2 separate regions of the Homo sapiens genome follow, and region 2 is linked to region 1. The links are contacts of gene promoters, found by promoter capture Hi-C in human tissues and cell types (Jung and others, 2019). All regions are on one chromosome and are shown on one strand. Each heading gives the region's core, a stretch centred on a gene start or on the middle of the fragment in contact. The rest is flanking DNA. Distances are from core to core; before and after follow the strand shown. Region 1 holds the start of LOC124902700 (a long non-coding RNA gene). Region 2 holds the start of GAL (galanin and GMAP prepropeptide).

Region 1 (5,371 bases), core at 1,059-3,558:
GGGGTGGGCCGGGAGCCCCTGGGGACGCTGGGCCGGGCCGGGGGCGGGTCCGCCGGGGCTGGGCTGCAGGGTGGACCGAGAACACCCGGAGCAGGAAAAAGTGCTCGGTGCTGAGCGCCGGCAGGCGACCGGGGGTGCTCGCGCAGCGCGCTCGGTCCTCCCTCCGGGTCTCGGGGCTCTGCGCAGCTCCGGGAAGCGCACCGGGCAGCGGGCGGCCATCCCTGCTCCGTCTCTCCCCACCCCCAGTCCCAGCCCGGCGTCGGGCAAAGAGGCAATTTCACACTCTGGAGGGGCGACTGAGGGGTTCACGCCAATGCCCGCTGGTCCCTCCTGCAGTCTAACTTCTTCCACCCGGGCGCAGCCTGGGTCAACCTCCACCTTCAGCTATCGCCCCGGCCGTGGGGGGCCTCTCCTGCCAGCCGCCGCCGACCCAGCTGACTCAGGAGGGTATTCGCGCGCTCACCGAGGACGCCCTCCCCACTCGCCCCTGCGCCTCCTCGTCTGCAAAAGAGGAGCCGAGGATCCCAGCACTTTGGGAAGCCGAGGCGGGCGGATCACGAGGTCAGGAGTTCGAGACCAGCCTGGCCAATATGGTGAAACCCCGTCTCTACTAAAAATACAAACATTAGCCGGGTGTAGTGGCGAGCGTCTGTAATCCCAGCTACTCAGGAGGCTGAGGCAGGAGATTCGCTTGAACCGGGGAGGCAGAGGTTGCAGTGAGCCGAGATCATGCCATTGTGCTCCAGCCTGGGCGACAGAGCGAGACTCCATCATAAATAAATAAACAAACAAACAAATAAATAAATAAATAAAAAGAGGAGCCGAGGGAGAGCCTGGGACGGAACTGGGGCTCTCCATGGGCGCTTAGAGGAGCTGAGGAAGGCGGGGGACACCCGCACGCCCCCTCCCTAGCCTCCGCCAGCTCCTTCCCAGAGGGAAGGACCCGCGGCTGCGCGGGCGCCCTGGAACTAGACTGCGCCCTGGACCCCCAGCCCCTCTGCGGTCCTGCGCGGGCGCCGGGGCCGGCAGGGGAGGGGGCTGCAGCGCCTGGACTGGCCATGGAATTATGTTGCATGAAAAACAAAGAAAGCAGCGCTATTCGGCCGGTCGGCCGCTCCCTCCCCACCTCCCCCGACCCTGGGCCTTAGAGGAGGGTCACTTCCTCCTCCCCACCGGTCCCTACCGCCAGAATACCCCAACTCTTCTTTCCTCCGTCCGAAACCTGTGACTTCAAGGAAACAATTAGCTTCTCCGGCAGCCAATGAGCGCCCAGCCAATTCCCCATTTTTCCAATGCACAAACGTTTTGGGGGGTTGGAGACGCCCAGGACCCCAGAAACAGGACAATCGCAGTTTCGGACTGGAGCGGCGAGGGGGGAGAGACGGGTGGGTCTTAGACAAGGAAGAAGCCTCACTGCAAGCACAGCGGAGGAAGGCATTATGTCTATTTGGGGTAATGGGGGGACGCAAGTGACCTCCGAGTGGACCTTGAAGGCTGAGTGGGAATCTTCCAGAAGGGAAAGGAGACAGCCATTGGGTTATATTTCAGGATCAAGGTCAGCGTGGGAGGTCCGGGCACCCACACCCACCTCCCAGGCAGACTGAAAGTGCTGTACTGTGCGCATCTGTCCTATCATGAATGGACGCATCCAATGTGGTCTGTCCGGACAAACAGAGTACTATTCAGCTATACAAAGGAGTGAAACACCGACCCAGGCTACAACATTGGTGAACCCTGAAGACATGATACTCAGTGAAAAAAGGCAGTCACCAACGACCACATGTTGTAGGATCCCATTCCTATGAAATGTGCAAAATAGGCAAATCCATATGTGAATTTGACAAAAAGTGGACTGGTGGCTGCCCCGGGTGGGGAACATGGGGAGAAAGGCTGCTAATGGGTTGAGTGTTTTGTTTAGGGGAAAATGTTTAGGAAATTAGATTGTGGTGGTGGTTGCACAACCCTGTGTATATACCAAAATCGATTGAATTGTACACTTGAAAACAGTGAACTTTATGGTATGTGAGTCAAATCTCAGTAGATTAAAAAAAAGAGAGCTTAGCAGGGCCAGGCGCAGTGGCTCACACCTGCAATCCCAGCACTTTGGGAGGCCGAGGCGGGTGGATCACCTGAGGTCAGGAGTTCGAGACCAGCTTAGCTAAAATGGCAAAACCTCATCTCCACTAAAAATACACAAATGGCCAGACACAGTGGCTCACACCTGTAATCCCAGCACTTTAGGAGGCCAAGGTGGGTGGATCACCTGAGGTTGGGAGTTCGAGACCAGCCTGACCAACATGGAGAAACCCCTTCTCTACTAAAAATACAAAATTAGCCAGGCATGGTGATACATACCTGTTATCCCAGTTACTCGGGAGGCTGAGGCAGAAGAATCACTTGAACCCGGGAGGCAGAGGTGGCCGTGAGCCAAGATCGCACCATTGCACTCCAGCCTGGGCAACAAGAGCAAAAACTCCATCTCAAAAAACAAAACAAAACAAAACAAAAAAAACAAAACAACAACAAAAATTAGCAGGACGTGGTGGCGCCCACCTGTAATCCAGCTACTTGGGAGGCTGAGGCAGGAGAATCGCTTGAACCCGGGAGGCGGAGTTGCAGTGAGCCGAGATCTCAACACTGCACTCCAGTCTGTGCGACAGAGCAAGAGATCAAGACTTCATCTAAAAAAAAAAAAAAAAGACAGAGAGCTTAGCAGAGTTGCACCTCAGATCCTGCATCGTGGTTCTTATGGCTGCTCCATTTTGCAGCAGAGGAAGCTTCTGCTTGAGCCTTGCAGTGGAGCAAGGCTGCAGCTGCCCTCTGAGAGTGTCTTCTCTGGAGAGCTGACTGGCCCTGCTTTGCCTCCGTCTCCTCTCCTGGCACCTGATCCATGGCTGTGCACAAAAACAAGAAGAAGTGAGTGGAAAGGCACGCTGGGCAGAGGGAACAGCGAGAACAGATGCTCAGAGGCAGGAGGTGGGGTGAGGTTTTCAGTGGAGAGAGCACAGAGCCCAGTGAGGTTTGTGAGCCCAGGTTGGAAAGGTCGTTTGGGCACAGATCTCTAGGAGGTCTTTCCGGCCTGCCTGAGAGGAAGGGCCAGCTTCCGGGAAATGCAACTCGCACAGTCACACAAGGGGAGAACTTAACAGGGCTTCGTGGTTAGTTTCATGCTCTGCAGTCACTGGCTTGAAATTCCTTTCTTGTTTTTTAAAATTTTTTTCAATTTTATGTATTTATTTATTTTGGAGACTGAGTCTCGAGAGCTCTGTCACCCAGGCTGGAGTGCAGTGGTGCGATCATAGCTCACTGCAGCCTCGAACTCCTGGGCTCAAGCTGAAGCCATTCTCTTACCTCAGCCTCTCAAGTAGCTGGGACTACAGGCACACCACCAGGTAATTTTTTATTTTTGGTAGAGACAAGGTCTGGCTTTGTTGCCCAGGCTGGTCTCAAACTCCTGGTTTCAAGCGATCTTCCCACCTCAGCTTGAAATTCTTCATAGTTTTTGATCAAAGGTCTCAGCCTTCATTTCACTTTGCTTGACAAATTTTGAAGCCTGTTCTGCCTGGAGGCCACAGATTGCCTCAAAGATGTTGGGGCACAGAAGGTGACCGCGAAGAAGGGCACACATGGGGACAGTTTAGAGGTTCCTGTGGGAGACATGGAAATGGGGTGAGGGCCTGGAAGGGAAGGGCCAGATGGAGGGGCACCAGGCAGCTAAGCCTGCAGAGCCCCAACCCTCCACCCGTCCATCCCAACCATCACTCAGTCATTCAGCTAACATTTCTGAAACCCAAGTTATGTATCTGGTTCTGGTTTCCAGGGTTTCCAGCCCTAGGGGGCTTATGGTCTATCAAATCTGTAAGCTAGTCCCCACCCACCCCATGCCAGAGCCACACTCTGCCCGACTCCCTGGTTTGTTTTTCTCCTTTGCTTTTTATTTTTTTATTTTTTATTTTTATTTTTATTTTTAGATGGAGTCTTGCTCTTGTCGCCCAGGCTGGAGTGCAATGGCACGATCTCAGCTCACTGCACCCTCCGCCTCCCAGGTTCAAGCGATTCTCCTGCTTCAGGGTCCCGAGTAGTTGGGATTACAGGCACCTGCCATCATGCCTGGCTAATTTTTGTATTTTTAGTAGAGACAGGGGTTTCGCCATGTTGGCCAGGCTGGTCTCGAACTCCTGACCTCGTGGTCCACCCACCTCTGTCTCCCAAAGTATTGGGATTACAGGCTTAAGCCACCGCATCTGGCCTCCTTTGCACTTTTCACATGAATCTGTTTCTTGACCACCTCTCTCACTAGAATTTGTAGCTTGGTTAAAATGCTCTGTTCACTCCCTGAGAGTCCCAGTGTCTAGAATAGTGCTGGCACAAGTATGGGGGCTCAATACATATTTGCAGAATGCATGAATGCATGATCCAATGAGTGAATATGGGTAAGACCAGGGCCAGATTTAGATCTTTCCTCTTTCCAGGACCTACAGACTGGGCAACATGGTGAAATCCTGTCTCTACTAAAAATATAAAACTTAGCCAGGTGTGGCATTCACCTATAGTCCCAGCTACTGGGGAGGCTGAGGCAGGAGGATCACTTGAGCCCAGGAAGTCGAGGCTGCAGGGAACTGAGATTGTGCCACTGCACCACTGCACTCCAGCCTGGGTGACAAAGGGAGACCCTGTCTCAAAAAACAAACAACAAAAAATCGTTCCAGGTCCTAACTGCTAAAAGGATTATGGCAACCTCTTCATATGTAATTTGAAAGGTGTCGACTAAAGAAAAAAAAAATCAAGCTTTTGAAGCTTTAGTTTATTCAGAGATCTTGCTGAGGACTATTGACTGAGGCCTCTAGCCCAGAAGCAGTTCCATCATATTGCTCCGCCACGGTGTTTCAGGTCACACCTTATATACCTGTGGTGGAGGTTCCCTGTGTGCAAAATCACATCAAGCTTTCTCAGAAGTTACATTGACGCAGAATCACATCAGAAGTTGGGTTTGGCTATATTTGGTTATAGATTACAGAGGCATAATCACTAACCTTGTTAAATGTTATTTATTTTTATTTCTTTTGAGACAGAGTTTCGGTCTTATTGCCCAGGCTGGAGTGCAATGGCGTGATCTCGACTCACTGCAACCTCCGCCTCCCGGGTTCAAGCAATTCTCCTGCCTCAGCCTCCCGAGTAGCAGGGATTACAGGCGTTCGCCACCACGCCCGGCTAACTTTGTATTTTTAGTAGAGATAGGGTTTCTCCATGTTGGCCAGGCTGGTCTCCAACTTCCGACCTCAGATGATCGGCTGGCCTCGGCCTCCCAAATTGCTGGGATTACAGGCCTGAGCCACTGCGCCCAGCTGACGTCATCTTATGTGCAGGAAAA
Region 2 (5,371 bases), core at 1,161-3,660, 170 kb after region 1:
TAAAATTGATGGCGAAAATGAGTTTGTTTTCTAATTAGGGGTCAAACTCTTCTTGACAAATAGATTTTCAATATTCCAAAGCAACACAGATAAATGTTCTCATTGACCAGTTCTGCCTTTGTTTTGGGCCCGTAGCACACAAAGATGAGGTGCCCTCTGAGTGGCAGAGCTCAGGGTTGCAAAGGGTTGAGGAAATCAGCCGACCCTCAGGCAGGTCAGGCCACTCCATGGGCAGGGAGAGGATGAGAGGGCCGCACAGAGACCAGCAGGCTCTGTGGTGAACAGCCTGGACCGATCCGCACGCGGCCTCAGGCGGCTCTGTCATCCCCGTGTCTGTTTCTTAAAGCCTGACTCTGGGGGTCCTCTGAGTGACCCCGATAAACAAGCGTCTGCAGGAGGAGGAAGCTGTATTCGACTCTGGGACTGAGAACTAAGTCAGCTTTCCTTGGCATGGGGAGAAGAGCACCATTCTCCCCATTTGCTGCTCCGCGGGGCTCAGATAGGCCCTGCGTGCTGTTCACATCCTTCCTCTGGCAGAAGGCAGTACAGGGAGGCTTTTAAGGTGGATGGTGAGGTGTGGAGGGGAAGGTGAGTTACAGGAGGGAACCAAGGCCTCCTCTTGTCCCCTCCTTTGGAGGAAAGTCAGAAGGCATTGCTGCACAGACCAAGGATGTGGAGAAAGTAGAGGCCTGGGACAGGGGCGGGGGCGGACACGGGGAGGTGTCAGCCTGCAGTGTCCCATCTAGGGCTAGGGCTCACCTCAGGCAGCAGGGGACACCGCTGACACAGGTGACAACAACAGGACAGGGAGAGGGAGGGGACACAGGCTTGGGCAGGCAGGGTCACCTGAACCTTGTTTTGAGGGGAGCCTGTCTGGGCTGCCTTCAGGCGATCTGGCAATTCCCGTGTGGAGCTTGGAGAAAGGGAAGAGGGAGGCAGGATTTGGGGTCCGCTGACCTAGGGTGCTCTGCAAGCCGAGGAGTTGAGTGTTTTGGGAGACCCGGGGGCCTGGGGAGAGGCCCAGAACAGGGCCTGTAAGGACTGCAAGGCGGGAAAGCCCAGGAGAACTTGAGCAAAGCCCAGGGTGGGAATCTCACCCCGGGACAGGGCGGCAGAGCCGGGGCAGGAGAAGCTTCTGGAAAGAACCGTACACAGATCAAGTGTGCAGAGCAATGGAGACGGGCAATGAGGTCAAGAGGGAGGCCAGAGGGTCTGCCCAGCCGCAGGCGGAGGGGCAGGAGCCAGGGTTCAAAGCGAGGGGCAGGTGGGGTCAGGAGTGGGGAGGCCATGCTGTCAGTCACTTACGTGGGCCCAGCAGGTAGCCCGCGCTGTTCAGGGTCCAGCCTCGTTTTTCCTTGGCCTTGAAGGGAGAAAAGGGGATCAGATGCCAGGGCTGTGCCTGGAGCCTATGCTGAATGGGTGCACCCAGGCTTTCCCGGCATGGCAGAGGACTTAGAACAATGCATGTGCTTTTGGATAGCTCGCGAAATTCCAGGTTTACCCCTAAGTCGGCTATATTTGACATGAAAATGGAACCACTTTATTTACGAAATACTTCACTTGAGGGCCTGAGCCCGCGCACTCTCAGCGCACTGCACCTGCTTTAGTGACGCTGAGGCCACGCCAGTGGCTCCTAGCCCTCCATTCTAACTAAGCCCTGCGGAACGGGCGAGCTTCTCGCTTTCCCGAGGCGCTGACCCGAAGCGCAGAGCTCTCCCGGCGGCCTGGTTATAGCCCGGGGCTGTTGATACACTCGGAGAAGCGCGCGGGGGGAATCCCAGGGAGCCCCGGACCCTTCCCGCGACGCCCGCAGCCAGGACAGCGCCCGCCTTTCCACTTTCCACCCCCATCCCCGCGGGCAGGGCGGAGGCTGCCTCCTCCAGGAAGCCCTCCACGCCCGGCCGGCTCTGATGTCCCCTTCGCTCGGAGGAGACGCGCCCCGCACTTACCGGCGACCAGAGCCCCGCAGAGGCAGAAAGGGCCGCGGCGAGGAGGAGGGAGGCGAGCAGGAGGGCGCTGCCTCGGGCCATCTGGAAGGGAAGGACAGGGCGGGCGGGTCGGAACCCGGAGTGGGCTGCGCCCCGAGGCAAGGAGTGCCGGGGCTGCGGGGAGGAGCAGAGGCGGCGGCCGGGCCAGGGCCCTGGCAGAACCGTCCCTGGGCAGAGGAAAGCCGAAGGGGAGGCCTCCCGGGGGCGCAGGGTCGGCCCGGCGCCAGTAGTACCTTGAGCTGCGGCTGCGCCCGGGTTCGGAGCGTCGGGGTCCGGGTGCGGTGGCGGGTCTGGGCGGCAGGTCCGGGCGTCGGGCCGGGTCGGGTGGGCTCTGGCGGCCTGGGGCGCTCACCGCATGGCGCGGCCGGCAGCAGGGGCAGAAGGCGCGGGCCGGGTCCCTCCACGTGTCCGCCGCCCGGTGTGGCCGCCGCCACCGCCGCCGCTGCTATATATGCGGCGCACCCGGGAGCCGCCCGGAGTCGCGTCACCGGCTCAGCGCCCGCCTCCTGCACCCTCGCCGAGCCCCGAGGGCGACGGGAGTGACCCGAGCTCGGGTCCTCTGGGCCATCATAGGCGGGTGCGGCGGAGAGCCCCCCCTCATCCCGCGGGAGAGACTCCCCCAAATCTGCAGAGAGAACCCCAAACCCTGTGGGAGAGACCCTAATCCCGAAAGACAGAGCCCAATCGCCCCGCGGGAGAGCCCCCAGACCCGTGGCCCAAGTCATCGCTGTGGCGTCAACCCCACTGCTCCCCCCGGGGTCCCAGCCCCAGAGCAAGCCTGACCCCCCACAACGTCCCACGCCTGCGGTCTCCCTGCAGCTTCTCCTCCCAGCCCCTACCGCTGCAAAAGCCAGCTGAGCTCCGCAGCACTGGAGACCCCAGAGGGTGACGGGCAGGGACGACTCCTCAGTCCGAGCCAGCCCCAGCTGGGAGGTCATGGGGTACCCGGGGAATGGCGGGCAACACTTGGCCCTGCGCCCTGGCCGGCTTGTGCTGGGGCTGGAGCGAAGGTTCAGGCCTCGGGAGCCGTCGATGGCGGGGAGGGCAGGCGTTCCCGGCTCCCTGTGCCCAGCGACCTCCCTCCTGTTTCACTAAAGGGGGGCTGTGGATCTCAGGGTCTGCTTGGCCATCCCATTGTGGGAGCTGCGGGACCGTCGAGCATCCACAGGCACCAGCTCAGAAGCTCGGCCTCTCAGTGCCTCCCCTGGCTGCCTGGTCCAGTTGTAAGAGGGAGCTTTAAGCAGGTCCAGCCATTGGGCAACTGGTTAGGTCCAGAGGGAGAGCAGCCCAGACTCCCAGAGGCCGCCAAGGGGTGGGCGGTGGGCAGAGCAGCAGCAAGAGGCTGTCCTTGTGCCCAAGGCAAAGACATCCCACAGGAACAAGGCCCTCCTTGGCTCCTCCACAAACCCTTCCTGAGCTGGGGCCAAGTCCCGAAACAACCCAGGAGAGAACCCAAGCCTAGGCTGTTCCTTCACCCCATTCCCAGGCATCAGGGGAGCACAGGATCCCAGGCATCACACTTGTACAGTGTGGCACCTCCGGGCTTCCGAAGAGCACGGGGTCATCTGCTGAAAACTCGCCTGACCTCCCCTCCCACTGGCCAGACACCACCCAAGTCCTCAACAGCAGCAGCTGGGTTAGGATCTCCCCACCCACTGGGCTCAATATCAGATGGGTTGATGTCACATCTGTGGGTTGATGTCCACAGGGCACAGGACGAATGATGATCATGACAGTGTCATCTTACCTGTCCTCTACACTTTAGTCTTGGGAACCTTTGCACAGACAGCTACAGGCTGCCCCCAGGAGAGATCCGTCTGCCTCCACGTGGCTGGGGAAGGACAACTGGGCTTTCAAGAACTCTGGCGAAGGCCAGCGGCTGCTGGAGAAGGTGCAGGGCTGCAGCCTGGTGGCTGAGTGTCTGCTGTGGTTTATGGGAGGAAGAGGAGGAGACAGGACTTGGGGAGGGGTCTTAGGAACAGACTCCTGGCACGACAGTGGTGAGGGGTGGGGTGTTCCCAAGGGCACAGTTTGACTTCTGGTCATCCCTATTTCTTGCAGCCTGGGGAGAGGAGAGTCAGGCACAGGGGACCCTAACTAGGACTCACAGGCTGATTTCGGAGCCCACAGTAAACCCTGAAGTGGTTTCCTGCCGGGAGTGGGGGCGTGGGAGACAGTGAGTCGCCATGAGAGTCTGGGCCAGCCGTGGGCAGAAGGACAGCCGAGAGGCGGAGGAGCAGAGGGCACGTTCCTGTGACTCTGCAGAGAAGTGACAATGATGTCCTCTCATGCCCCATGTCCTTGTGTCTAGATGACATCAGGGAGTGGGCAGGGGCTGGGCTCATGGGTGCCTCTTGGCTACCTGAGAAATACTGCAACCTTTGGCCCCCGGTGGTAGTGGGAGCCCTGCTACCATCCCAGAGCTCTTTCTTGCTTTCTGCTGAGAACAAATCCAGCCCAGTGCATAGCACATCTTAGTCAATTCCAGCCTTCTCCTTTCTTCCACGTTAGGCCCCCTTCCAAATCCTGCCAGAGCTTGACTACACTTATTTTCTCTATTTACTTTGTCACAGAGGCTCTTAGTCTGTTTAAAGGAGCACAAACTCTAAACCTAAATCCTTGAGATGGATTCGAAAAGAGACTCAAAGTCCATCCCTTAGTCATGGGCTGGAATTTGAGGTACATTAAACTTTCAGCTGTCTTCATTTGGGCCTATGTACTCTTTTTGTTTCCTTTTTTGCTTTCAAAGAAACTTCAGACTGGGCGCAGTGGCTCACGCTTGTAATCCCAGCATTTTGGGAGGCTGAGGTGAGTAGATAGATCACTTGAGCCCTGGAGTCCAAGACCAGCTGGGGCAACATAGCAAGGCCTCATCTCTACTAAAAATAAATAAATAAATATTTTTTAAAAATCAGCCAAGCATGATGGCACGTGCCTGTAGTCCCAGCTACTCAGCTCAGGAGGCTGAGGTGGGAGGATCACCTGAGCCCAGGAGGTTGAGGCTACAGTGAGCCACGATCAAGCCTGCACTCCAGCATAGGCAACAGAGCAAGTCTCTGTCAAGAAAGAAAGAAGGAGGGAGGGAGGGAGAGAGAGAGAGAGAGAGAGAGAAGGGAAGAAGAAGAAAGAAGAAGAAGAAGGAGGAGGACGAGGAGGAGAAGGAGAAGAAGAAAAGAGAAGGAAGGAAAGTGAGGAAAGAGAAAGGAAAAAAAGAAAAATAAATTTCAGGCCGGGTGCGGTGGCTCATGCCTGTAATCCCAGCACTTTGGGAGGCCAAGGCGGGTGGATCACAAGGTCAGGAGATCGAGACCATCCTGGCTAACATGGTGAAACCCCGTCTCTACCAAAAATACAAAAAATTAGCCGGGAGTGGTGGCAGGCGC

The links. The method cuts DNA at HindIII sites, captures the fragments that hold promoters and counts their contacts. A contact is called where the count stands out against the background at its distance.
Region 2: the fragment with the promoter of GAL here is called in contact with a fragment that was not itself captured in region 1 in 3 of the 25 tissues and cell types used here (lymphoblastoid cells, mesendoderm cells and psoas muscle).

What each region holds. Positions count from the first base shown.
Region 1 is chr11:68,850,384-68,855,754 of GRCh38, reverse strand. It overlaps LOC124902700 (a long non-coding RNA gene), which reads right to left and starts at 2,389. Exons shown (of 3, transcript XR_007062752.1): 1 at 2,356-2,389. RefSeq lists a silencer at 106-165. The HindIII fragment of the contact is 8,710 bases long and covers 1-5,371 here.
Region 2 is chr11:68,681,583-68,686,953 of GRCh38, reverse strand. It overlaps GAL (galanin and GMAP prepropeptide), which reads right to left and starts at 2,410. Exons shown (of 6, transcript NM_015973.5): 1 at 2,222-2,410; 2 at 1,950-2,030; 3 at 1,306-1,360. The coding sequence starts at 2,030. The region is part of intron 2 of LOC107984343 (a long non-coding RNA gene); the gene reads left to right. RefSeq lists enhancers at 1,664-2,339, 3,016-3,691. The HindIII fragment of the contact is 15,033 bases long and covers 1-5,371 here.